Regions from separate parts of the Homo sapiens genome. Here regions 1, 3 and 4 are each linked to region 2. The links are contacts of gene promoters, found by promoter capture Hi-C in blood cells and fetal thymus (Javierre and others, 2016). All regions are on one chromosome and are shown on one strand. The core of a region is centred on a gene start or on the middle of the fragment in contact, and the rest is flanking DNA. Distances in the headings are between cores, read along the strand shown. Region 1 overlaps AGTPBP1 (ATP/GTP binding carboxypeptidase 1). Region 2 holds the start of IDNK (IDNK gluconokinase). Region 3 overlaps NAA35 (N-alpha-acetyltransferase 35, NatC auxiliary subunit). Region 4 overlaps TUT7 (terminal uridylyl transferase 7).

Region 1 (6,376 bases), core at 903-3,402, 2.1 Mb before region 2:
TAATAATTTTTACTGTTTCAAGGACATTCTTAAGTGACATTGGCTTTTTCTTGTCTTTTTATTTTTTATTTTTTGAGATGGAGTCTTGCTCTGTCGCCCAGGCTGGAGTGCAGTGGTGCAATCTCTGCTCACTGCAAGCTCCGCTTACTGGCTTAACGCCATTCTCCTGCCTCAGCCTCCCGAGTAGCTGGGACTACAGGCGCCTACCACCACGCCTGGCTAATTTTTTGTAGTTTTAGTAGAAATGGGGTTTCACCGCGTTAGCCAGGATGGTCTTGATTTCCTGACCTTGTGATCCGCCTGTGTCCGCCTCCCAAAGTACTGGGATTAGAGGCGTGAGCCATGGCTGGCTTTTTCTTGTTTTATAATTGTTGGTGGTTGATGGTGACTTTAACTCAGTCCAAGATGCCAGTAATTTTAAGATTTTAAATTTTAGTATTATACAAATAGTTTTGAACTTGTGGGTCCCCTAAAAGAGTGTCAGGACCACAGGGGCCCACGCACCGTGCTTTTAGAACTTCTGGATTTAAATCTTAAAGAGGCTTTCTCACAAACGTTTGATTAAGAAGTGAAGTGGTAGTGACAGTCTCTTGTTTGCTTTTGTTTTACGCTTTGGGTAAAGGTAAAGGTCTTATTAAAAAAAAGTATTATAGCTAGATAGTAGGAATAAGCTCTACAGTGTTCTCTAGCACTATAGGATGACTGTAATTGATAATATATACTTTCGAATAGCCAGGAGGATATCAAATGCACAGAAATGATAAATGTTTGAGATGATGGATTTGCTAATTACCCTGATCTGATTGCTATACATTACATGTATCAAAAGATCACTGTGCCTCATAAATACATATGATTATTATGTGCCAGTTAAAAAATTTAAAGAAAAATATTTTAACATACAAAATTAAGTACAATAAAGGTTATTCACAGAAAGTTTCTTAATGGTTTTAGTCAGGTGCTGATACAATGGGATTATAGTATTAGTAATCTGAATACCATCTAAAAACAAAAATCAGACCCGGTAGTACATTTCTATATAAATGTTCAAATTTAACATTTTGGGAATGTAAATATTAAACAGTGAAGGCACAACGTGAAAAGCTCCACTAATATCTAACTCATAAGTTTAAAAAAAAGTGACCTGGTTTCCCTTCTTAATCTCTGCTCATTTCTCACTTAATTCATGCTGAGAATGAACTGCCCTATGGAGAAATTCCAGGCACTTGCTGTCTTTGCCTCACATTTTTCCTTAAGGGGAAAATGATTTAAAATTATGAAGATTATAAGGATATTGGTTATATAGGGATTAAAAACAATAATAAAGTCAGCCAGAGGGATTTATGGTCGGATAATGTTAATAAAAATCTGAACACTGCCTACATGTAATAGAGTTTAATGAATTAAAAAATATTATTTTAACAAGAACTCTTTAGGTTTATTAATTTATGGTCAACACACTTTCTAGACTCCTTTTTGGTGCATGGTGAAAACTAATCTCTCACCTTTTAATTTAATCTTATTGATTTTAACTTTTATTTATATTTGAAACAACTTTTTTCCCAATTTTTAACACAAGGTTCATATTTTGATCTTTAAAAAAATATTTATTTTAAAAATTGGTGGTAAAACATATATAACATAAAATTTACCATTTAAATCACTTTTAAGTGTGTAGTTTAGTGGCATCAAGTATATTCACATTGTTGTGCGGCAGCCACCACCATACATCTATGGAACTTCTTTTATCTTCTCAAATTGAAACTCTGTATATATTAAACAATTACTCTCCCCCTCCCCCATAATCCATTCCCTGGCAGGCACTGTTCTATTTTCTGTTGCTATGAATTTGACAACTCTGAGTAGGTCACATGAGTGGAATCAATCATACAGCGTTTATCTTTTTGTGACTGGCTTATTTCATTTAGCACAATGTCTTCAAGGTTCGTTCATGTTGTACCGTGTGTCAGGACTTTCTTTTTAAGGCTGGATAATCTGTTATATGTATATACCAGATTTTGTTTATGCATTCATCCGTTGATGAATGGACACTTGGGTTGCTTGTGAATAATGCTGCTTTGAATCTAGGTATGTAAACATCTCTTCAAGACCTTGCTTTTTATTTATTTATTTTTAAAATTTTTTTAGATGGAGTCTCGCTGTGTTGCCCAGGCTGGAGGGCAGTGGCGCGATCTCAGCTCACTGCAACCTTTGCCTCTGGGTTCAAGTGATTCTCCTGCCTCAGCCTCCTAAGTAGCTGGGACTACAAGTGTGTGTCACCATGCCTGGCTAATTTTTTTTTGTATTTTTAGTAGAGACGGGGTTCTACCGTATTAACCAGGATGGTCCCTGTCTCCTGACTTCATGATCCACTTGCCTCGGCCTCCCATGGAAGACCTTGCTTTCAGTTCTTTTGAGTATATACCCGGAAGTGGAATTGCCAGATTGTATGGTAATTCTATTTTTAATTTTTCAAGGAACCTTCATACTGTTTTTCATAGTGGCTGCACCATTTTATATTCCTATCAATAGTGCACAAAGATTCTAATCTATGCACATCAACACTTACTATTTTGTGTTTTTGTTTTGTTTTTGGTAGCAGCCATCCTAATAGCTACGAAGTGATATCTTGTAGTTTTGATTTGCCTTCATGTTGCTGTATTTGGTTTCCTAGTATTTTGTTGAAGAGTTTTGCATTAATGGTCATAAAGAATACTGGTCTGTCATTTTCTTGTAACATCTGTCTGACTTTGGTATCAGGGCTGTACTGGCCTTATAGAATGAGGTAGGAAGCGTTCCTTCTTCACTTTTCTGGAAGAGTTGAAAAGAACTGGACTTTTTTTTTTTTAAGTATTTTGTAGAATTTACCAGTGAAGCCATCAGATTCAGGGCTTTGCTTTGTAAGGAGGTTTTTTTGTTTGTTTGTTTCAGACGGAGTCTCTCTTTGTCGCCAGGCTGGAGTGCAGTGGTGCCATCTTGGCTCACTGCAACCTCTGCCTCCTGGGTTCAAGCGATCCTTCTGCCTCAGCGTCCTGAGTAGCTGGGACTACAGACACGCGCCACCACGCCCAGCTAATTTTTTGTATTTTTAGTAGAGACAGGGTTTCACCATGTTGGCCAGGCTGGTCTCGATCTCTTGACCTTGTGATCCGCCCACCTTGGCCTCCCAAAGTGCTGGGATTACAGGCGTGAGCCACCGTGCCCAGCCTGTAAGGAGGTTTTTAATTACTGATTACATCTCCTCAATAGTTATGGGTCTATTTAGATTTTCTATTCCTTTGTGGTTCAGGCTTGGTAGGTTTTGTGTTTCTAGGAATTTATCTCATCTAGGTTATCCAATTTGTTGGTGTACTGTTGTTCACAGTACTCTGTTATAATCCTTTTTGGTTTTGTGGAATTGGTCATGAATGTCTCCCCTTTCATTTCTGATTTTAGTAATTTGAGTCCTCTCTCTTTTAAATCTTGCTAAAGGTTTGTCAGTTTTGTTAATCTTTTCAAAGCACCAACTTTTGGTTTTGTTGATTTCTTTATTGTTTTTCTAGTCTCTATTTTAATTATTTCTCCTCTGGTCTTTTTTATTTTCTTCCTTCTGCTCACTTTGGGTTTAGTTCTTCTTTTTGTAGTTCCTTAGTTGTAAAGATAGGTTGTTTTGAGATCTGTCTTCCTTTTTAATGTGTTTATGTCTATAGATTTTCTCCTCAGCACTGCTTTTGCTATATCCTGTAAGTTTTGGTATGTCATGTCTTTGCTTTCATTTGTGTCTATTTTCTGGTTAACCCAGTGATTTCTTCTTTGATTCATTGGTTAAGAGTACGTTGTTTAATTTCCATAAATTTGTGTATTTTCCAGTTTTCTTTCTCAGATTGATTTCTAACTTAATCCTGTTGTGAGGTTGGAGAGCACACTTTGTATGATAAATATCTTTTAAAAGCAATTGAGACTTAATTTGTATCCTAATATGTGGCCTGTTTTGGAGAATGTTCTGTGTGCACTTGAGAGGAATTTATATTCTGTTGTTGAGTACCTTGTTCTAAATATATGTTAGATCTAGTTGATTCATTGTGTTGTTCAAATCATCTCTCTCTTCACTTCTTTCTGGTTGTTCTTTTCCTCATTGAGAATGGTGTATTAAGTATCCACCTTTTATTATAGAAGTATTTCTCCCCATAATTATGTTAATTTTTACCTCGTATTTTGATGATCTGTAACTACTTCATATATTTTGTTGGTGTGTAAATGTTTATAATTGTTTTATCTTCTTGCTCTGTTGAACTTTTTATTAATATATAATATACTTTTTCTCTTGTAAACTTATTTGATTCAGAGTCTGTTTTGTCTGATACTAGTATAGCCCTTCCTGCTCTCTTTTGGTTACTATTTGCATGGAATATCTTCTTCCATTCTTTCACGTTCCATGTATTTGTGCAATGGGATCTAAAGTAAGTCTCCTGCAGACAACATACAGTTGGATCATTTAAAAAAATCTATTCTGCCAGTCTTTGTGTTTTGATTGGCAAATTTAATCCCTTTACATTTAAAGTAATTACTTCCTAAAGTAAATTACTTATTTCTGTTCTTTGTTTTTTATATGCCATATTAGCTGTTTTTATTCCTCATATTTTATATATTTTGATTTATATTGGGATATTAGCTGGAGCTGACTTTGGGTTATAGTGGTTTTCTTCATAAAGTGGTTTCTTCAAAAAAACCCAAACCACTATTTGAGTTATAGTGGTTTCTTCATAGTCCCGTCCTGGCTAACATGGTAAAACCCCGTCTCTACTAAAAATACAAAAAATTAGCCGAGCCTGGTGGTGGGCGCCTGTAGTCCCAGCTACTTGGGAAACTGAGGCAGGAGAATGGCCGGAACCCAGGAGGTGGAGCTAGCAGTGAGCTGAAATCACGCCGCTGCACTCCAGCCTGGGCGACAGAGCAAGACTCTGTCTCAAAAAAAAAAAAAAAAAAAAAAGGGTCATAGTCATAGGTTAGAGGCAGAGAAAAATGTGTGTTTCAAGGTAAGATTTTAAATCTCATTTATCATCTGTATAGACTTAGAAATTTTGGCTTTGTTTAAGTCTGAAAATAGTTGAAATCTGAGTTGGAGGAAGAGTTATTTTAAACAAATCATTTAATAGTTGAAGGGTAATGAGATTCTGCTCTTCAAACCTACCTCATTTATTGATAGTAAAATGGAAATGTCACAAAGCAAAACTAATTAGACTTTTTATAAGTATCTGAACATTTTTTGTGGAGTAGTGTGTGAACCTTACAGATTTGTTTGGTTTTGATAAGAATGCATGATCAGGAAAGATACATAAGCTTTTTGTAGATTTACTCTTACCCATACTTTTTGATAAAATTAATGACAATAAAATAGGTGAAATCAATTTTCCTGTTTGAAGATTGGACTAAAATATAACATAATCATTGGGCTGGGCTTGGTGGCTCATGCCTGTAATCTCAGTACTTTGGGAGGCCAAGGTGGAAGAATTGCTTGAGCCCATGAATTTGAGACCAGCCTGGGCAATATGACAAGACCCGGTCTCTACAAAGAATGGAAAAAACAATTAGGTGGCTGGTGGTGTGCACCTGTGGTCCCAGCTGAGGCAGAAGGATTACTTGAGCCCAGGAGTTTGAGGCTGCCGTGAGCCTTGTTTGTGCCACTGTACTGTAGCCTGGGTGACAGAGCAAGACCGTGTCTCAAAAACAAACAAACAAACACACACAAAAAAACCAAAACACTTCCCTCCCCGAAAAAAAAAACCCTGCCAAACTACTTCCAAAGTAATTGCACCATTGTACATTCCTGTCAGCAATGTGTGAGGGTTCCAGTTTCCCACATCCTTGCTAACACTTGTTATTATCTGTCTTTTTAAAGTTTAGCCATTCTATTGGTTGTGAAGTGGTATCTCATAGTAGGCTAAGTTTCAAAATAGCAGTTAGGCATAACAGGAGTGATAGTACTTTAAGATGAAGTTAATGTTCCAATTAAAATATTGAATAGGCTGACCTAGGAATGGTTCTTGACCCTGGCTATGCATGATTAGTATCACTTCCTAATTTAAAAAAGTTGATGTCACAACTTCATTTCATTTCTGAGGATATTGTACGATTCCTCTCCTACTCCATGGCCCAAATCCTTCATTTAAAAATAAAACAGTAAAGACACACTTGTAGAGAAAGAACTACTTTCCCTTAAGCAAAGAGAAGGTTTACCATAGGCTGCTAAATAGTTTAAAGAATTGTTGGAATGTATCAGTATGGGTTCAATCAGGAGATAGAAACCACATAGTAATTTAACAGGGAAAGAATAATATAAGGAATTATTGACTGTAACAGGGGATTGGAGTAATAAGAGATTTACCAGTGAGAAGTA
Region 2 (6,072 bases), core at 1,040-3,539:
CAACAGTGATTCCCACAGTTAGATCTAAAGTCCCTCTCCTCTGAACTTCAGACTTGGACATCCAACCACCATCCACTGGATGACTAATTGGCTCGTCCAAGTCACCATATCCCACACTGAGCTTCTGAGGTTGTCTTCCAAATCTGCTCTATCTACTGCTTCCCCAAATCAGTTTGTGGCGACTCCCTCCTTCCAATTACTCAGGCCTAAAATCTTGAATCATCCTTGACTTCTCTCTTGTCTTCTTACACCCAACATCCAGTCCACAAACACATCTTTCTGACTCTACCTTCAAAATATTGCCAGCATATGACCACATTCTCTTTACCTGCATTGTTTCTGACTTCATCTCCCATCATGCTTCCCCTCACTCAGCCACAATGGGTTCCTTCCTGCTCCTTAAAGAAGCCAAGCCTTAGCTGGGCGCGGTGGCTCACGCCTGTAATCCCTGCACTTTGGGAGGCTGAGACGCATGGATCACCTGAGGTCAGGAGTTTGAGACCAGCCTCGCCAACATGATGAAACCCCGTCTCTACTAAAAATACAAAAAATTAGCTGTGCATGGTGGTGGGCGCCTATAATCCCAGCTACTTAGGAGCCTGAGGCAGGAGAATTGCTTGAACCCGGGAGGAGGAGGTTGCATTGAGCCAAGATTGCACCACTGCACTCCAGCCTGGGCAACAGGAGTGAAGCTCCGCCTCAAACAAAACAAAACAAAAAAAAAACAAAAGAAGCTAAGCCTCAGAACCATTGCACCTGCCATTCCCTCTGCCTGTCCTGCCCTTTCCTCAGCTATCCACATGGCAGGTTCCTCAAGTCTTGCAGGTCTTTGCTGAAACGCCACTCCCCCAGAGGAGACATCCCTGACCACTCTGCCTGGCACTCTTTGTTCCCCTTACTCCAGAGCATCTATCACCAACTCACACACTACATATATTCATTTACTCTGTCTCCCATACCAGAATGTAAATCCTTTGAGGGCAGGGATTTTATCTGTCCTGTTCGCTATATGACAATGACATAGAGTAAGGATTGAGCTCAATAATTACTGAGTACATGAATATCACAAGCTATACATCATAGGGATTAGGCCTCCCTCATCTGATTCAAGACTCAGAGGGGGTACATGAACTGCCCAGGCTCACACAGCCAGACAGCAACAGAACCAAGACCTAGGGCTCTTCACTCCTGTTACATCACACCATGGCAATGATTTTACATTCTCCAACTGATTCAAATCATATGGCAGCTAGGGATTTGGGGGCTCCATGTTTTATTTCAATTGCAGTTCAAGATTTCTTTTTATCTTTGTGGCTGAGAACCCTACAATAATTTTGGAAAGCAAAACCCATCTACCTGGAGTAAATCTTTAATATACACCTGACTACACAGGCCACAACATGGGCCGTTCCTGATTCAGAAAATTCTAGAAGGGTCCTATAGGCCCTTGAAGGTTATGATGTTTTAGCTGATCAAGTTCTGTCCTTTGCTGCCTGTGGTCGAATGGTACAGCAGCTGTCTTTTCTGATAAAGGGCACAGTTAGACTTTGGTTTAAACAGGAAGCCAAATGTTAACTCCTCAGTCTCCAGGTTAGCACACTGGGCTACCTCTGTGGTTTCCACAATTCTCTTCTTTCTTTCCAAACCCTCAGGAGCCACCCTCCATATTAACGCTGTCTCCTTCCAGGTTAAGCTGATGAAAGGAAGGGGAAAACGATTCACTTTCCAAAATTGAATCGGAGAAGTCCAGGGCCTCATAGGAGGAGGCCGCTGTGTGTCCAGATGGCCAAAGGTCTGTGAGAGCCTGGGCCGTGGTTTGCGTCCTCTCGCTAGAGGCCGTGCGCCCTCCCGCCTGGCCCCGACAAGGCGCCCCGAAACCTAGCCCCGCGCCGCTCGCTAGGCCTCCACCTGCGCGGCCCCGCAGCCGCCTGTTCAGGAGCGGCTTCCTCCCTGAGCCTGCGGTCGCCGCAGCCTCCCCGTCTTAGAGCGGGAACCCGGAGCTCGGATGCGGTCCCAGGATGGGCGCCCCGCGAGCAGGCTGGAGGGCGGGGAGAGGGCGCGGCAGCCGCGGGCCTCGGTTTCTTCATCTGCAAAGGGAAGGGTGGGGGGTCCCCAAGACCCCAGTCCACCGGCAGGGACGGCGACGCGTCCGGCCTCCGCCGCGCCCGCAACACTTGTCCCGGGCGCCCCCCGCCCTCTCCCGGACCTACTTCCCCGAGCCGCTCACGCCCATCACCAGCAGCGCGCCCGGCGCCGCCATAACCCAAGCTCGGCTCCTTCCCGTCGCCTTCCGGGCCCCGCCGGCCCCGGCCTACCCGGCGCTCGAGGGGCGGAGCCGCTCTCGCCCCGGCCGGGGCAGTGAGGGCCGTGCCCCTCTGCGCCCTCCCCGTTTTCCCGCGCCCCTTTTCCATGCTTTCCTCCTCCCTTTCCCAACCTCCCGGCCTCTCTCTCCTGCCCCTTCTTTTCCTCTCCCCTCCCCTCCCTCTTTCCTCTTCCCGGAAGTGAAGCGCGCGCCCGGCCTGGCACTCGCGTCTCCCTGGGCTGGAGGGAGCCGCCCAAAGCCCCGCCACCTGTCGTTCTACTGCCCCGGCCCCTCTTGGTTCCAGAGGATCCTCACCCTGGCAGGCCGGATCCTCATCCACCCATGGAAAGCATTCATTCATTCATTTATAAAAATGTTCTTGTAAAAAGAATAAACAGAAAATAAGACTCATAATTTCCCACACCAGGCAGCAATAAGCAGCACTTCCTAAAACGACTCCCCTTTCCCCGCGCCCCGTCGTAGATAGATGGGTATGAGTATTTTGTAAAACTGGGATCAGGCCGTACACAGCGTTTTGTAATCTGGCCTTTTGTCACAATAATAAATGGCGGCCATCTTTTGGTGTCAAACTTAGGGTTGAGTGTTGACCGTAGCAGCATATGTCTTGGCTGTATGGCTCTGCTGTTAAATCCAGCACTGGTTGGGGCTTTAAGAGGAAGGAGCACCACTTTAAAGTGTCCATTTGCTTTAAAACAATGTTAATTATGTGTCGTTTGAACTATTTGATTAAAAGCACTTCTTTTTTTTTTTGAGACGGAGTCTCGCTCTGTCGCCCAGGTGGGACTGCGGACTGCAGTGGCGCAATCTCGGCTCACTGCAAGCTCCGCTTCCCGGGTTCACGCCATTCTCCTGCCTCAGCCTCCCGAGTAGCTGGGACTACAGGCGCCCGCCACCGCGCCCGGCTAATTTTTTTTGTATTTTTAGTAGAGACGGGGTTTCACCTTGTTAGCCAGGATGGTCTCGATCTCCTGACCTCATGATCCACCCGCCTCGGCCTCCCAAAGTGATTAAAAGCACTTCTAACCGCATTTGGCATCACCTCCTTTGGTCTTTTGTTAACCAAGGTAGGTATTACTCTGTGTCCTAGAAAACAATAAAAGTGACATAAAAGCATTTATCTAATGAATAGTTCAATTACCCCTGCACTGCCTTTGTTTTTCATATACTTAGCCCGAGTAGGTGAGATTTCAATCTGGATGGGGGCTGTACAGGTGAAGAAATTGAGGCTTGGAGAGAGGTCTTACAATTCAGTTATGGTCAATACACATTTCTTGAACATCTACCATGTGCTGGTTAATATCATATTAATATTCATTTAAAAGATTACCCTCTAGGCATTCTCAAGCTTGATAAGAGGAATAGATGTGTATGCAAATACTCTTAACTCGTGCCCTGCTTCGCTAGCTCAGTATGAAAAAAAAAAGCTCATATTTCTTTCAATGTTCAAATCAGAATGATTAGCAGAAAATCTGATTCTTCTCCTTGGATTTCTTTCCCCAGACATGTCCAAGGATCTTAAACTTGCTGTGCTGCTCAGGGTGGTGGCAGGAAACAGCATGCTCAAATTGGGGCAGGTGAACAGGATTTAACAAAGGGACTATTAGCACAGGTGTGGGTAGGGTCAGAAAAAGCAACTAGGGGCAGAGTCCACATCTGAGTAACCGAGAAGTGTTTTCACTCTTAAATAGAAAGGGGCTGATGAGAGGGAGCCTTTATATGGGAAGGGAAGAGAATGGAAGGAGAGAGACAGAGAGAATAGACCATATAGAAAGAAGTGTCTGACAGGACTGTAGCCTTAGGAAGAGAGAGATAGACATTCCTTGTTGACCCAGCAGAAAAATAATCAGGAGAATAAATAACCTCCCCTCCCCTCCTCTTGCCCTGTGATCTCCTGCTCGTGGCCAAACCCCACCAGCCAAACCCAATTGGAAGGTGGAGAGCTAGGGAGTCCGGCGGTGCCCATGCATGCCAATTTCCTGGGCTCAGAGCAGGGAAGAGAAGGGTGGAGATTGTATCTGGAGGTACCAATGAAAGATACCCAGCATGCCAGTGTCAGTGAAACTCTGTGCCTGCTTCCAGGACAGCGGAACTTCAAAGGTGCCCCTAAGAGCTGAATTCCACGTTTTTTTTTTTGCTTTCCAAAGAGTGCCACCTGCTGGTCCTGGTTGTCTCGGTGCTTCCCAGCTGTTACTATGGGGCAACCCAGATGCTGAATATTGGTCTGGTTTTAGGTCCTGTCTACTGCAAGAACTGTTGTACTGAGGCACATGGTACTCTGGAAACCCCGAGTCCCTAGCGAGGCACAGCTTCTTGCATGCGTTTCTATAGTCACTCAAGTCCAGATCACCCCCAGATTCTGGACAGCATGTACTGTAAGTCTCAAACAGAAATGGCAGCGCTCCTGTATGAAGCTGACCATTTCCACAGCGGTTAAACAGAGCTCAGTGACGAGCACCTTAATGCGCACAGGCACTTCCCTGGGAGGCAAATCATCCACAAAGATGGCTGGGTTGGGACAGATATTCACATACCAGGAGCCTCACAGCTCTGATATGTCTAATTGAGAAGAGTTTGGATCTTCCCCCTTTCCCTTCCAGGAGAGTCCTTGATCCCAGTTTAATTCTGAGAGTTCAAATAGATGCATGAAAGAGCTTAAAAGTCAAATCCCAGGTCTTAGCCAAGTAGCTTGTTACACTTTCTTCTGGAAGTAATGGCTGTATACTTGCTTCACATCTTCATAATTAAAAGTGGCCACTCTAAAGATCCAGAACAAAGTTTGCAGAAAGGCAAAATGGTATCTGTTATCTCAATAGATGTAAAACAAAAGCACTTCACAGAATTCAACTTCCCTTTGTGATCAAAATACTCAACAAACCAGGAATACAAAATTCCCAACTAGATAAAAAGTATCTGTGAAACCCCAGGTAACATCATACTTAATGGTGAAAAGACTGAATGTTTCTCCCTATGATCAGGAACAAGGCAAGAATGTCTTCTCTCACCGCTTCTATTCTACATTCTGTTAGAGGTTCTAGCCAGGGCAATTGGATAAGAAAAAGAAATAAAAGGCATCCAGATTGGAAAAGAATATGTAAAACTATCTCTATTTCCAGATCACATGATCTTGTTTATAGAAAACCTAAGGAATCCACAATAAACCTACTAGAGTTAATAAGTGAGATCAGGAAAGTGACAGGTTACAAGATCAGTGTATAAAATCAATTGTAATTCTAAACAATCTGCAAGGAAAAAATTAAAAAAATTTTCATTTACAAGAGCATCAAAGAGAACAAAATAATTAGAAATTTAACAGAAGTATAAAATGGTAGTCTGAAAACGACAAAACATTTTTGAAAGAAATTAAAGGAGGCCTAAATAAATGGAAAGACAGCCTGTTTTCATGATTTGGAAGACAATATTTTTGAGATGGCAACACCCTCCAAATTATACAGATTCAACACAATCCTCATGAAAATCCCAGCTGGCTCCTTTGCAGAAACTGAGAAGCTGATTCTGAAGTTCATATGGAAATTTGAAGGAGATAGAAAAATCTTGAAAAAGGGAAAAGTTGGAGTATTCACATCTCCCATTTAAAAAACTTACTTCACTTATATACTCATAAAGTCAATTTGGTACTGACATAAGGATAGATGTACAGACCAATGGAATATAACTGGGAGTCCAGGAATAAATCCATAAGTTTATGGGAAATTGATTTTCAACAAGGGTGACAAGACAACTCAATGAGG
Region 3 (5,962 bases), core at 379-2,878, 2.3 Mb before region 2:
TTTTTTTGTTTTTTTTTTTTTGAGACAGAGTCTCACTCTGTCGCCCAGGCTGGAGTGCAGGTGGCGTGATCTCGGCTCAATGCAAGCTCCGCCTCCCGGGTCCACGCCATTCTCCTGCCTCAGCCTCCGGATTAGCTGGGACTACAGGCGCCTGCCACCACGCCCAGCTAATTTTTTGTATTTTTAGTAGAGACGGGGTTTCACTGTATTAGCCAAGATGGTCTTGATCTCCTGACCTCGTGATCCACCCACCTCGGCCTCCCAAAGTGCTGGGATTACAGGCATGAACCACCGCACCCAGCCGAAAACTAAAGATTTTTTAAAATGCTTCACTTAAGTTGGTTAACTATACTATTTGTAAATTTTGTTTACGATATCCATTTGCCTAGTAAATCTTTCTTTATAAAATATGTAAAATCAAACTCTATGGCAAGTATAAATGAATTTCTAAAGCAATTTTAAATTCACTACCACAAGTATTTTACTTGTGTAAATTTACTTTTATATATGAATATATTAATACACAAAATTTAACCCCCAAGCCAATTTTCCTATTTGAATATATAGTCAAATGCTTTCAAAAATTAAATTTAAAAGTACACAAATGCACAAATTTAGAGCAAGATTTTAATGAAGACCTCAATTTTCAGACTTTAACATACAAAGGTTATAACTAATTCTTGTTTATATGCTTGAGCTGCTTTGAAGGAAACAGACTTTAATACAACGTTTCATTTCATTATTAAGCACCATGTTTTAACAGGAAGTAACAAAAGATAAATGGAAACACAAAAAGTACAATGGTAACTACCTTGATAGCTTGTTCAAAATTGAGAACTTTTCGATTAACTTGGTTTCCAATCATGCCAGCATCCATCTTGGGATCCATCATTTCAATAGCAGACATGGCTTCAAAAAGACCAAATCTGCAAATAAAAAAATTGAGCCAACAAATTGTTTTTGAGCCAGTAAGCTTATTCATATTTTCACAACGGTATAAAATTATACTACTTTTAATAACTAAAGTATTCTATGCATTTAGTCTTCTCAACTTGCTAACACTTCTATTTCAATTAACTGTCGACTGACACAGAAATTATTTCATGTACTTGCCACTCAAATTATTTCACATGCACTGTGAGGAAGAAAAAGATTTCTGCCGGGTGTGGTGGCTCACACCTGTAATCCCAGCACTTTGGGAGGCTGAGGCGGGTGGATCACCTGAGGTTGGGAGTTCAAGACCAGCCTGACCAACATGGAGAAACCCCATCTTTACTAAAAATACAAAATTAGCTGGGTGTGGTGGTGCATGTCTGTAATCCCAGCTACTTGGGAGGCTGAGGCAGGAGAATCGCTTGAACCCGGGAGGCGGAGGTTACGGTGAGCTGAGATTGCACTGTTGCACTCCAGCCTGGGCAACAAGAGTGAAACTCCCTCTCAAAAAAAAAAAAAAGAAAATATATAAGATGTCTGTGGTCTCACACTAGACCTAATAAAGAATTCTCGGGGTAGGACCCAGCAATCTACGCTTTAATAAGCCCTCCAGACAATTCTGGCACACGCTCAAATCTGAGAAGAACTGAATTTCAGATTCTACTTCCCCTTCCCTGCAACCACAATGTCCAATCTTGTCTACTTACTAATTAAAAGTTTCATATTCCTAACCTTGAAAATTGAGCCTGGCCATGGCAGTATAGGAACTGGGGCTACATATGGGCATATAAAGACGAACAAGTATTTCCATTTATTTTGTTTTTCCAAGGTGCTATTGTTTGCATGTGGTTTGCCTCCACCAAAATTCATGTTAAAACTTGATCCCCAATGCGGCAGTGTTGGGAGGTGAGGCCTAGTGGGAAGTGTCTGGGGCATGGGGAAGAATCCCCATGAATAGATTAATGCCCTCCCAGGGAGGTGAGTTCTTGCTCTCCCAGGAACGAATTACAGTTGACCCTTTCACAACATGTGTTTGGATTGCAGGAGTCCACCTAGACAAAGGTTTTCTTGCACCTGTGCCACCAGAGACTGCAAGACTAACTTCCTCTTCCTTCCTCAGCCTACTCAACATGAATATGACAAACATGAAAACCTTTATGATGATCCACTTAATGAACAGTAAGTATATTTTCTCTTCCTTATGATTTTCTTCATTACATTTTCTTTTCTCTAGTTTATTCTAAGAATACAGTATATGGCACATATGACATACAAAATATGTGTTAATCAATGGTTTATGTTATTGGTAAGACTTCCAGTCAATGATAGGCTACCAGTAGTTAAGCTTTTGGGGGAGTCAAAGGTTATACGTGGATTCTTGACTGTGAGGGGGTGGGTCGGCACCCCAATCCCCAAGTTGCTCAAGGGTCAACGATACTACCCAAGAGGGTGGTTTGTTTTAAAGACTCTGACTTCCTCGGGTTCTCTCTCTTGCGTCCTCCTCTGCCATGTGATCTCCTTGCACCACATGCCACTCCCCACTGCTCCCCTTCTGCTTTCCACCATGAGTTGAAGCAGCCTAAAGCTCTCACTAGACGCAGTTGCCCAGTCTTGAACCTTCCAGTCATCAGAATTGTATGCCAAATAAATCTCTTTATAAACTACCCAGTCTCAGGTATTCAGCTACAACAACACTAAACTGACTAAGACACAGGGATTCTCATTTACTTTTATCTAGGCACTTAGTCACCCAATTTCTGGTTATCAAGCAACCTATCACATATGACATACAACTGATATCTTTTATTCAAGAAATTCCACATTCATTACATCTGCTCTCAAGGAAAGGACCATAAGTTACAGTTTCCCTAGGTATAACCATTTCACATCACAACTAGGGTCAGCTGCCCCAAAATAGCTCATCACAGTTAAAAATATATTTATAATTAGTTTTATTTTCACAATTTTGAAACGTAAATTTACTCAAACTTCAGGGAATATTACTCCACATGAGGAAAAAAAAACAGACTGAAACATTACACTACACTATTTTCAAAGGATAAATACTTACAGCTTATCATGAAGTAGTTCTCCCAACTTTAATTCTAAAAAAAAAAAGAGAAAAACCCTTTGAACATATTTATATTTAACTTTTAATTCTAAGAAAAAAAAGACATTAGCACCTGAAAAGATGTGCTTGTATTACTTTAAAATTCATTTTCTAAGAAATACTTATTTCTACTCAATTACTAATATAATGCATTCTATACAGTGAGTACTTGTGTAAATACAAAAGAATACGATAAATCAAGTGGTTTAGGAAAAAAATAATACTTTTGAGAATAAGTGACCCATCGCAGGCCATAATATTCCAATCAGAATTACCAACCCCATTTTTAAAAATCACTAGTATATTTCGCCAAGTAAACTTTTACATAGAACTGACTGCTACTTCTCAAGTTTTTAAACCACGTTACCATAATCTAATTTCCTTTTGTTCCAGTAACAGTGTCAAAACCATTTTTTAAAATCCTATTTTGTTTAAATCATGTAGAAGACACTTGAGTAAACAGGTAATCAAAACAGTGTTCAATCCCTATAAAGCAGTGGTCCTCAACCTTGGCTGCATATTAGGGTCAACTGAGAAACTTTCTAAATCCCAAAGTCCAAGCAGCATCCCAAACCAATGAAATCTAGAGTTGGGACCTATACAGTGGTTTTAGAGCACTCCAGATGATTTTAATATGCAGGTAAGTCAGAAATCACTGCTATAACATGCTAAGTAGATTAAATATTGATGGCAGCCGGGCCAGGTGGCTCACGCCTGTAATCCCAGCACTTTGGGAGGCCAAGGCGGGTGGATCACGAGGTCAGGAGATCGAGACCATCCTGGCTAACACAGTGAAACCCCATCTCTACTAAAAATACAAAAAAATTAGCCAGGTGTGGTGGTGGGCACCTGTAGTCCCAGCTACTCGGGAGGCTGAGGCAGGAGAATGGCGTGAACCAAGGAAGTGGAGCTTGCAGTGAGCCAAGATCACGCCACTGCACTCCAGCCTGGGCAACAGAGCGAGACTCTGTCTGAAGAAAAAAAAAAAAAAAAATATATATATATATATATATATATATATATATATGTATATAGATGGCTAAATCCTGTGGAAGGTGTAAAAAAGCAGTTTATAGAACTTTAGCCAATCTTCCCTAGCCAACTGTAAGTTAAATAATATTAATTTCTAACAGTTCCAGGTACTGAAACAGATAAGAATCATGTGTGAAAATACACCAATAAGGCTGAAGTTAGTGGATCACCTGAGGTCTGGAGTTTGAGACCAGCACGGCCAACACAGTGAAACCCCATCTCTACTAAAAATACAAAAATAGCCAGGTGTGGTGGTGGGTGCCTGTAATCCCAGCTACTTGGGAGGCTGAGGCAGGAGAATCACTTAAACCCGGGAGGCAGAGGTTGCAGTGAGCCGAGATTGTGCCACTGCACTCCAACCTGGGTGACAGAAGGAGACTCCCTCTCAAACAAAACAAAACAAAACAAAACAACAAAACATAGCAGAACACATACTAGTAATCCAGCAATTCTCGAAGAGTGGTCTGGGAACCCAGGAACTTGCCATGTTAAAATTACTTTGATAATCATACCAAAACATTCGTTGTCTTTTTTTATTGTGTTGACACCTGTACTAATGATGCAAAAGCAATGATAGGAAGGTAAAAAGGCAATGGAGGGCAAAACTGCTGCAGCTTCAGCACAAATCAAGACAGTGGCCCCAAGCTAAACTAATCATGTACTCTTCACTTCCATGCACTTACGGCTAAAAAAAGACAAAAATTTTCTTCAATCTAAGAATGCCCTTGATGATCACTATTCATTAGGAAAGTGCAAATTAAAATTACAATGACACCACCTTACACTCATTAAGATGGGTACTACAAAAAAAAATCCCTGCAGAAAATAAGTGTTATGAGGATGTGGAGAAACTGAAACCCTTGTGCACTGCTGGTAGGTTTGTAAAATGGTCGAGACACTGTGGAAAACAGTACAGCAGTTCCTTGAAAAATTAAAAACAGGACAGATGCAGTGGCTCACACCTGTAATCCCAGCATTGTGGGAGGCCAAGGCAGGAGGACTGCCTAAGCCCGCGAGTTCAAGACCAGCCTGAGCAACACTGTGAGACCCTGTATCTATAAAATATCTTCTAAAATTAGCCAGGCATGGTGGTGCACACCTGTAGTCCTAGCTACTGGGGAGGCTGAGGTGGGAGGATTGCTTGAACCCTGTAGTTTGAGGTAGCAGAAAGCCACAACAGAACCACTGAACTCCGGCCTGGGTGACAGAGTGAGACCCTGTCTCTAAACACAAAAAAAAATTTTAAACAGAATTACCATATGATCCAGCCAATTCAAATTCTGAGCATATACCCAGAAAAGTTGAAAACAGTCTCAAAGAGGTACTCGTATGCTCATGTTCACAGTAGCATTATTCACAATCAAAAAACATGGGAAACAACCCAAGCGCCCATTGACAGATGAATGATAAACCATGGTCTACACATACAATGGAATATTATTCAGTCTTAAAAAGGAAGGAAATTCTGACATGCTACAACATAGATTAACCTTGAGGACATTATGCTAAGTGAAAAAAGTCAGGCACAAAAAGACAAATACTGTGTGAGTCCATTTAAATGAAATACTTAAAGTAGTCAATAATAATACTGTAGGGCCAGGCATGGTGGCTCATGCCTGTAATCCCAGCATTTTGGAAGGCCAATGCAGGCAGATCACCTGAGGTCAGGAGTTCAAGACCAGCCTGGCCAATGTGGTGAAACCCCATCTCTACCAAAAAAAATACAAAAAGTAGCCAGGCATGGTGGTGGGTGCCTGTAGTCCCAGCTACTTGGAAGGCTGAGGTGGAAGAATCACTCAAACCAGGAGGCAGAGGTTGCAGTGAGCCGAGATTGCACCATTGCACTCCATCCTGGCCAACAGGGTGAAATTCTGTCTCAAAAAGAGA
Region 4 (5,888 bases), core at 3,190-5,689, 2.7 Mb before region 2:
AGATGACCATGCTAAAGGCCATGGCAGTAAAATGGAAAAGGGCCTTCAAAAAAAGAAGATAACACCAGGGAACTATGGGAATACCCCCAGAAAAGGACCATGTGCTGTTTCCAGCAATCCATATGCATTTAAAAACCCAATCTACAGTCAACCCGCTTGGATGAATGACAGCCACAAAGATCAGAGTAAGAGATGGCTGTCTGATGAACATACTGGTAATTCAGACAACTGGAGAGAATTCAAACCTGGACCTAGAATTCCTGTTATAAACCGACAAAGAAAAGACTCCTTTCAAGAAAATGAAGATGGTTATAGGTGGCAAGACACAAGAGGCTGCAGAACTGTAAGACGACTGTTTCATAAAGACCTAACAAGCCTAGAAACCACGTCAGAAATGGAAGCAGGAAGTCCTGGTAATGTTTTCCAACTTGTCAGATCACAACCCCAGAGTCAGCAATGTTTTATTCTTTTTCATCCAAATGAGTTTTGTTATTTTCAGCAATTTAGTTTCAGTTTTTCACAGTTTCTGTTTTAAGAAATGGTCACTTAGTGTGATTATTTTAAGGATAGTAATCATGATATTTGAGCAGCTAAAACACATTTCATATGTTGATCCCTTTAAAAGTTTACTTTGCCCCAGGGCTCACTTTACGTCAGTAAACATGTTTTCTGTAACGTGTTTTTTACAGAAGAGGGTAGCTATATGCTCCAGGGGACCATATCGTAATTGCTCAGTGGTTTGTGTGTTTTCAAAATTGTGATTATAATTTTGTATTTGAATAATTAATGTGTTCATAATATAAATGACAGAATATAAAGCTTTTTTTAAAAAAAAAACTTATTTGTTGATGTAAAAACACAGTATACACTGCGTATATCTCCTGCCACAAGAGATATATCTTTTGGATGTAGTGTCAGTGTCCCGAGATGGATAATCTGAGATCTTTGTTTTTCAAAAGGGATCGTGACAAACAGGTTGAGAAACAAGTTTAGAAAGTCAGAAATAGATTCAAGCTTTGCTGTTTGGTTTCAGTAAGACCAAAACTAATTTCTCGGTGCCCTCACATGCTTGGTTAATTGCCCCAAAGGGATAATAAGGAGATAATATGTTTTTCTAAAAGTAAAAAGTAGATTTTATCCATGTGGCAACGATTTCTGCAAACAGGAAGGTTATTTTTATCTAATGGGAGATATATACCGAAATGAAATAAAGTCACAAATTGGATGGAAAAAATGAAACAATATCACAGTTGGAAACATGGACTTGTAAGTTTAGTGGCTGAAAGCGTTTTTTAGTGGTTGTATAGAATGTGTTTCAAACTGGCCAGCACTTTTAAATAAATTTTTTTAGTTTAAATGCATTCAGGGAATATGGACACTTTCTAGATCACCCGATGCCTTTTCTCTTCATGTTATCTCACAGTGGCCAGTTCATACACTGGTTACCTATAAGGTGTTTGAATTTGTGTCCCATGCGTATAGAATACTTAAAAGCCAAAAGGTCGTCTTTTATCTTTACAAGGTCTTAGGATAAAAATGAAAGTCTCAAGCACTTATTAATATTAAATGGGGGGAAATGTGCTACTTGATTTTTTTTCTTTTTTCACAGATACTTCTAGTTGTCAGATCTGTTTATTTATATTTTATTTTATTTTTTGAGACGGAGTCTCGCTCTGTCACCCAGGCTGGAGTACAGTGGCGCGATCTTGGCTCACTGCAACCTCTGCCTCCTGGGTTCAAGCGATTCTCCTGTCTCATCCCCCAAAGTAGCTGGGACTACAGGCACATGCCACCACATCAGGCTAATTTTTGTATTTTTAATAGAGACAGGGTTTCACCATGTTGGCCTGACTGGTCTCAAACTCCTAACCTCCAGTGATCCACCCACCTTGGCCTCCCAAAGTGCTGGGATTACAGGCGTGAGCCACCACATTCAGCCTGATTTTTTTTTTTTTTTTTTGAGACAGTCTCACTGTGTCACCCAGGCTGGAGGTGCAGTGATGTGACCTCCTCTCACTGTGGCCTCTGCCTCCCAGGATCAAGCGGTTCTCATGTCTCAGCCTCCCAAGTAGCTGGGACTACAGGTGCACACCACCATGCCCAGCTAATTTTTCTGTTTTTTAATAGAGATAGGGTTTCTCCCTGTTGGCCAGGCTGGTCTTGAACTCCTGACCTCAAGTGATCGACCTGCCTCTGCTTCCCAAAGTGCTGGGATTACAGGCGTGAACTACCGCGCCTGGCCCTCAGATATTTTTAAATTTGAAAATTAAGAGTATATATTAATATCAAGTAGCAGAAACAGAATGAAGTGTTATAAAGGCGTTAAGTAGTAGGGAGACATAAAACTTAAATCTTTAAGCTAGAAATAGCTTGAGGAATTATCTGATGCAGTACTCTGTTGTAATATATCAAAAATGGAATCACAGTTTTACAAATCAGGCAGCTGCAGCTCAGAGAGGTTAAATTTCCACAGACCTGTTTATGCAGCGCGGTAAATGAGGAAGTAGAACTAAAATTGGGGACTCTGCTACTCTGGCCATTAACTCAGCCTCGCTGGACCTGAAATCCTGACGGCGGAGCCGAATATTTCTTGATAATTTCTGGGCTTTTGATTTGTGTTTTTCTTTATTAAAAATTGTGTATATTTAAGTGTTTCTGTATTACTGTCCAGGTGGGATGTGGGTATTTAATTTTGTTACCTATAGTCTTGTAGAAGTTGATCTTGAAAACCATTTCATTTTATTATTATTATTCTCTTTTTTGAGATGGAGTCTCGCTCTGTAGCCCAGGCTGGAGTGCAGTGGTGCGATCTTGGTTCACTGCAACCTCCATCTCCCAGGTTCAAGCAATTCTCTTGCCTCAGCCTCCTGAGTGGCTGGGACTACAGGCACGTGCCACCACACCTAGCTAATTTTTGTATTTTTAGTAGAGTTGGGGTTTTAGCATGTTGGCCAGGGGTAGTCTCGATACCCTGACCTCATGATCTGCCTGCCTTGACGTCCCAAAGTGTTGGGATTACAGGTGTGAGCCACTGCACCCGGCTGAAAAGCATTTTAAAAAGAAAGTTTATAGATCAAAAATTTGCAACTAGACATTAAAAGGAACTGTTGGCTGACCACAAAAACTTTTATATGTTTTCTTATTTTATGTGTATTCTTATAAAAGCAACTAAAGAAGTTGCTTTTAAGTGTATTTGAATAGGAAATGCATTTTGCTATTTTTTTATTGGAGGTAATTCAAAAGTTTGCATGTTTTTGCTGTATGACATACAGGTATATGCTTTCACAGTTATTAAGTAAAGAATTATTCAGTTTCTATCCCTTGAAAATCTTCATATAGGAAGCATTAAGCTTCGGTATAACATTATTTAGTTTAGAGAGATTCAACTGAAAGTATAAACTAAAAAGGATCTCATTAAAGAGATCGAAATTTCTTTATCAAAATTGTGTCTTAATAAGGAAGGGTATTATTCAACAATGTGAGAAGATATAATGGAAATTATGGTGGAGTTGCTTTTTTCCCCCCCACATACGGTACTACCTTCTGTTTTTTTCAGCTCTACATTACTGCCCCTACTTTAGCCTTCAAATGTCCTAGATTGCCAGTTTAATGTATTTGGGACATTGCCATTAATGATCTTAGCTGGAAAGCATCCACTCAAATACACATGTCCTTTGTGAACCATATGCAAATAAAATATGGGAAACTTGGAATGCCGAATATAGAGAACTCTTATTACAATAAATCTGAGGTAAGCCAGGTAGTCTTCCTCCAAGTAATTATGAGAATTTTTCTTTTTTCTTTTTTTTTTTTGAGATGGAGTTTCACTCTTGTCGCCCAGGCTGGAGTGCAATGGCATGATCTCGGTTCACTGCAACCTCTGCCTCCCGAGTTCAAGCAATTCTCCTGCCTCAGCCTCCCGAGTAGCTGGGATTACAGGTGCCTGCCACCACGCCCAGCTAATTTTTGTATTTTTAGTAGAGACAGGGTTTCACCATGTTGGCCAGGATGGTCTCGAACTCCCGACCTCAGGTGATCCACCTGCCTCGGCCTCCCAAAATGCTGGGATTACAGGCATGAGCTGCCACGCCTGGCCAAGAATTTTTCATCAGTACCTAGCTTTACCCTCCAAGAGTCCCTCCGGTGAGATTTTGACAGTTTTTACCATGCATGCCTGTGAAAGTAGGTTTAGAAGGTTATATTGCCTTTCAGTGCTAGTCCACTCTAGATGTGAATGGGTATGTTCCAAGAAGGGATTTTAGTAATTTCTTTCCAGTTTTTATGTTGTTAGTTAGAAGGCTGAATTTCAGGATTTCATCCTTTTTTTGTTTGTTTGTTTTTTAGACAGAGTCTCACTCTGTCACCCAGGCTGGAGTGCAATGGCGCAATCATGACTCACCACAGCCTCACCTCCTGGGCTTAAGCAGTCCTTCCGTCTCAGCCTCCTGAGTAGCTGGGACCACAGGAGTGAGTCATCTTGCTGGCTGATTTTTTTCATTTTTGCTAGAGATGACATCTCACTATGTTGTCCAGGCTGGTCTTGAACTTCTGAGCTCAAGCAGTCCTCCCACCTTACCCTCCCAAAGTGCTGGGAATTACAGGCATGACCCACTGCACCTGGCCCCATCCATATTTTAATCTATATTTTCAATCCCTTTACTTTGATTTAGCCATGTGTTCTTGGAGAAGTTATTCTCTTGGATTCGCATTGTCCCCATCTGTACAATGGGGACAGTATTAGCAGGATTGCTGTAGGGATTAAATAAGGCAGTACATATAAAGTGCTTTACATCTGTTGCATAATAAGATACACCATCATGGTAGCTGCCATTATCTGACAGAATTTCTGCAGCCATCCACTTCTGTATAAAAGCAGTAGGAGTTGATTGAGGTCTTTGGAGGAAGAGAGAAGTTACTCTTTCTAGAAAATGACAGCAAATATGGTTATATGGAGAAACCTTTGTGACCAGAAGAGAGGAAGAGTTTAAAAAAGGAATTCGGTTCCCTATCACTTACTGGCTTGTGAACTAATAGGGGCTTTTCTAAAGGGTATTGCAGTATTATTTTAAATTTATAGAGTTTTTGCCTAAGAAACCTGTAATAAACACTGAAGTTAGATGCAGTTTTTTTGATAATGTTTATAATGATAAGCAAACTAAATGAGAATGGATACATCTCTAAGTAAAAGAAGTGCTTATCTGAAAAAAAAAAATTGTTCAGACCAGAAATACTGGCCTTAAAAGATTATGATAATTTAATTGGGAGTCGGGGGAGTATTAAAAAGGAAATATTAAGGTAGCGCAAGGTAGCCTGATTTTCTGTTGAAATGACAACTTACCTTTTAGTATTTTATTTGTTCAGTGTATTTTGATTGATTTTTTAAAACTACTTTTCCAACACTTTAATTTTTTTTAATTTTTTAATTTTCTTATATTGTGGAAGGTGTTTGCAGAATTTTGAGATAGTCATCTCAGGTAGTTTTAGCACAATGCTTGCTGCTTATCCTTTAGCGCTCTCAGCAAGCTTTTTATAAAATTGGAGGTCCTATATTTCCTTTTCAGCCTGCCAGTTCATTGTAATTGCCATACTAGTAGTAATGAGTTCCTCTGAAAACTTGATGGAGGAATTACTTCATGTAGGGCTTTTCAGTAGGTTTATGTTTCCAAGCACTAATGTGTTACTAATAGTTTCATTTTTTAAAACTCGATATAAGTTATCAAAGCTATCTAAAACAATTTTTTATGGTTTAATCCCACAATCACTTTAACAAGTTGAAAAGTTATAAGTTTTAAAAAGGAACAGGATGATTTTTATTCATTATAAGGATTATAGAACTAATAGCAGAGTTTATAAACAAATGTACTTAGAGAAAACTTTTGTTTCAATGG

The links. The method cuts DNA at HindIII sites, captures the fragments that hold promoters and counts their contacts. A CHiCAGO score of 5 or more calls a contact.
Region 1: a fragment that was not itself captured here is called in contact with the fragment with the promoter of IDNK in region 2 in 1 of 17 cell types (total CD4 T cells); the score reaches 6.8 in total CD4 T cells.
Region 3: a contact is called between a fragment that was not itself captured here and the fragment with the promoter of IDNK in region 2, in 1 of 17 cell types (activated CD4 T cells). The highest score is 6.7, in activated CD4 T cells.
Region 4: a contact is called between a fragment that was not itself captured here and the fragment with the promoter of IDNK in region 2, in 1 of 17 cell types (total CD4 T cells). The highest score is 8.0, in total CD4 T cells.

The regions. Positions count from the first base shown.
Region 1 is chr9:85,730,804-85,737,179 of GRCh38, reverse strand. The region is part of intron 1 of AGTPBP1 (ATP/GTP binding carboxypeptidase 1); the gene reads left to right. Among named protein-coding and RNA genes, the nearest start is that of AGTPBP1, 8.0 kb to the left of the region's middle. The HindIII fragment of the contact is 6,338 bases long and covers 1-5,321 here.
Region 2 is chr9:83,619,360-83,625,431 of GRCh38, reverse strand. It overlaps IDNK (IDNK gluconokinase), which reads right to left and starts at 2,289. Exons shown (of 5, transcript NM_001001551.4): 1 at 2,211-2,289. The coding sequence starts at 2,260. RefSeq lists enhancers at 1,685-1,734, 1,755-1,884 and a silencer at 2,065-2,594. The HindIII fragment of the contact is 10,566 bases long and covers 1-3,670 here.
Region 3 is chr9:85,953,436-85,959,397 of GRCh38, reverse strand. It overlaps NAA35 (N-alpha-acetyltransferase 35, NatC auxiliary subunit), which reads right to left. Exons shown (of 23, transcript NM_024635.4): 3 at 3,005-3,038; 4 at 812-926. Among named protein-coding and RNA genes, the nearest start is that of NAA35, 15 kb to the right of the region's middle. The HindIII fragment of the contact is 1,305 bases long and covers 976-2,280 here.
Region 4 is chr9:86,347,205-86,353,092 of GRCh38, reverse strand. TUT7 (terminal uridylyl transferase 7) reads left to right here. Exons shown (of 27, transcript NM_024617.4): 2 at 1-413. Among named protein-coding and RNA genes, the nearest start is that of TUT7, 4.3 kb to the left of the region's middle. The HindIII fragment of the contact is 2,173 bases long and covers 3,353-5,525 here.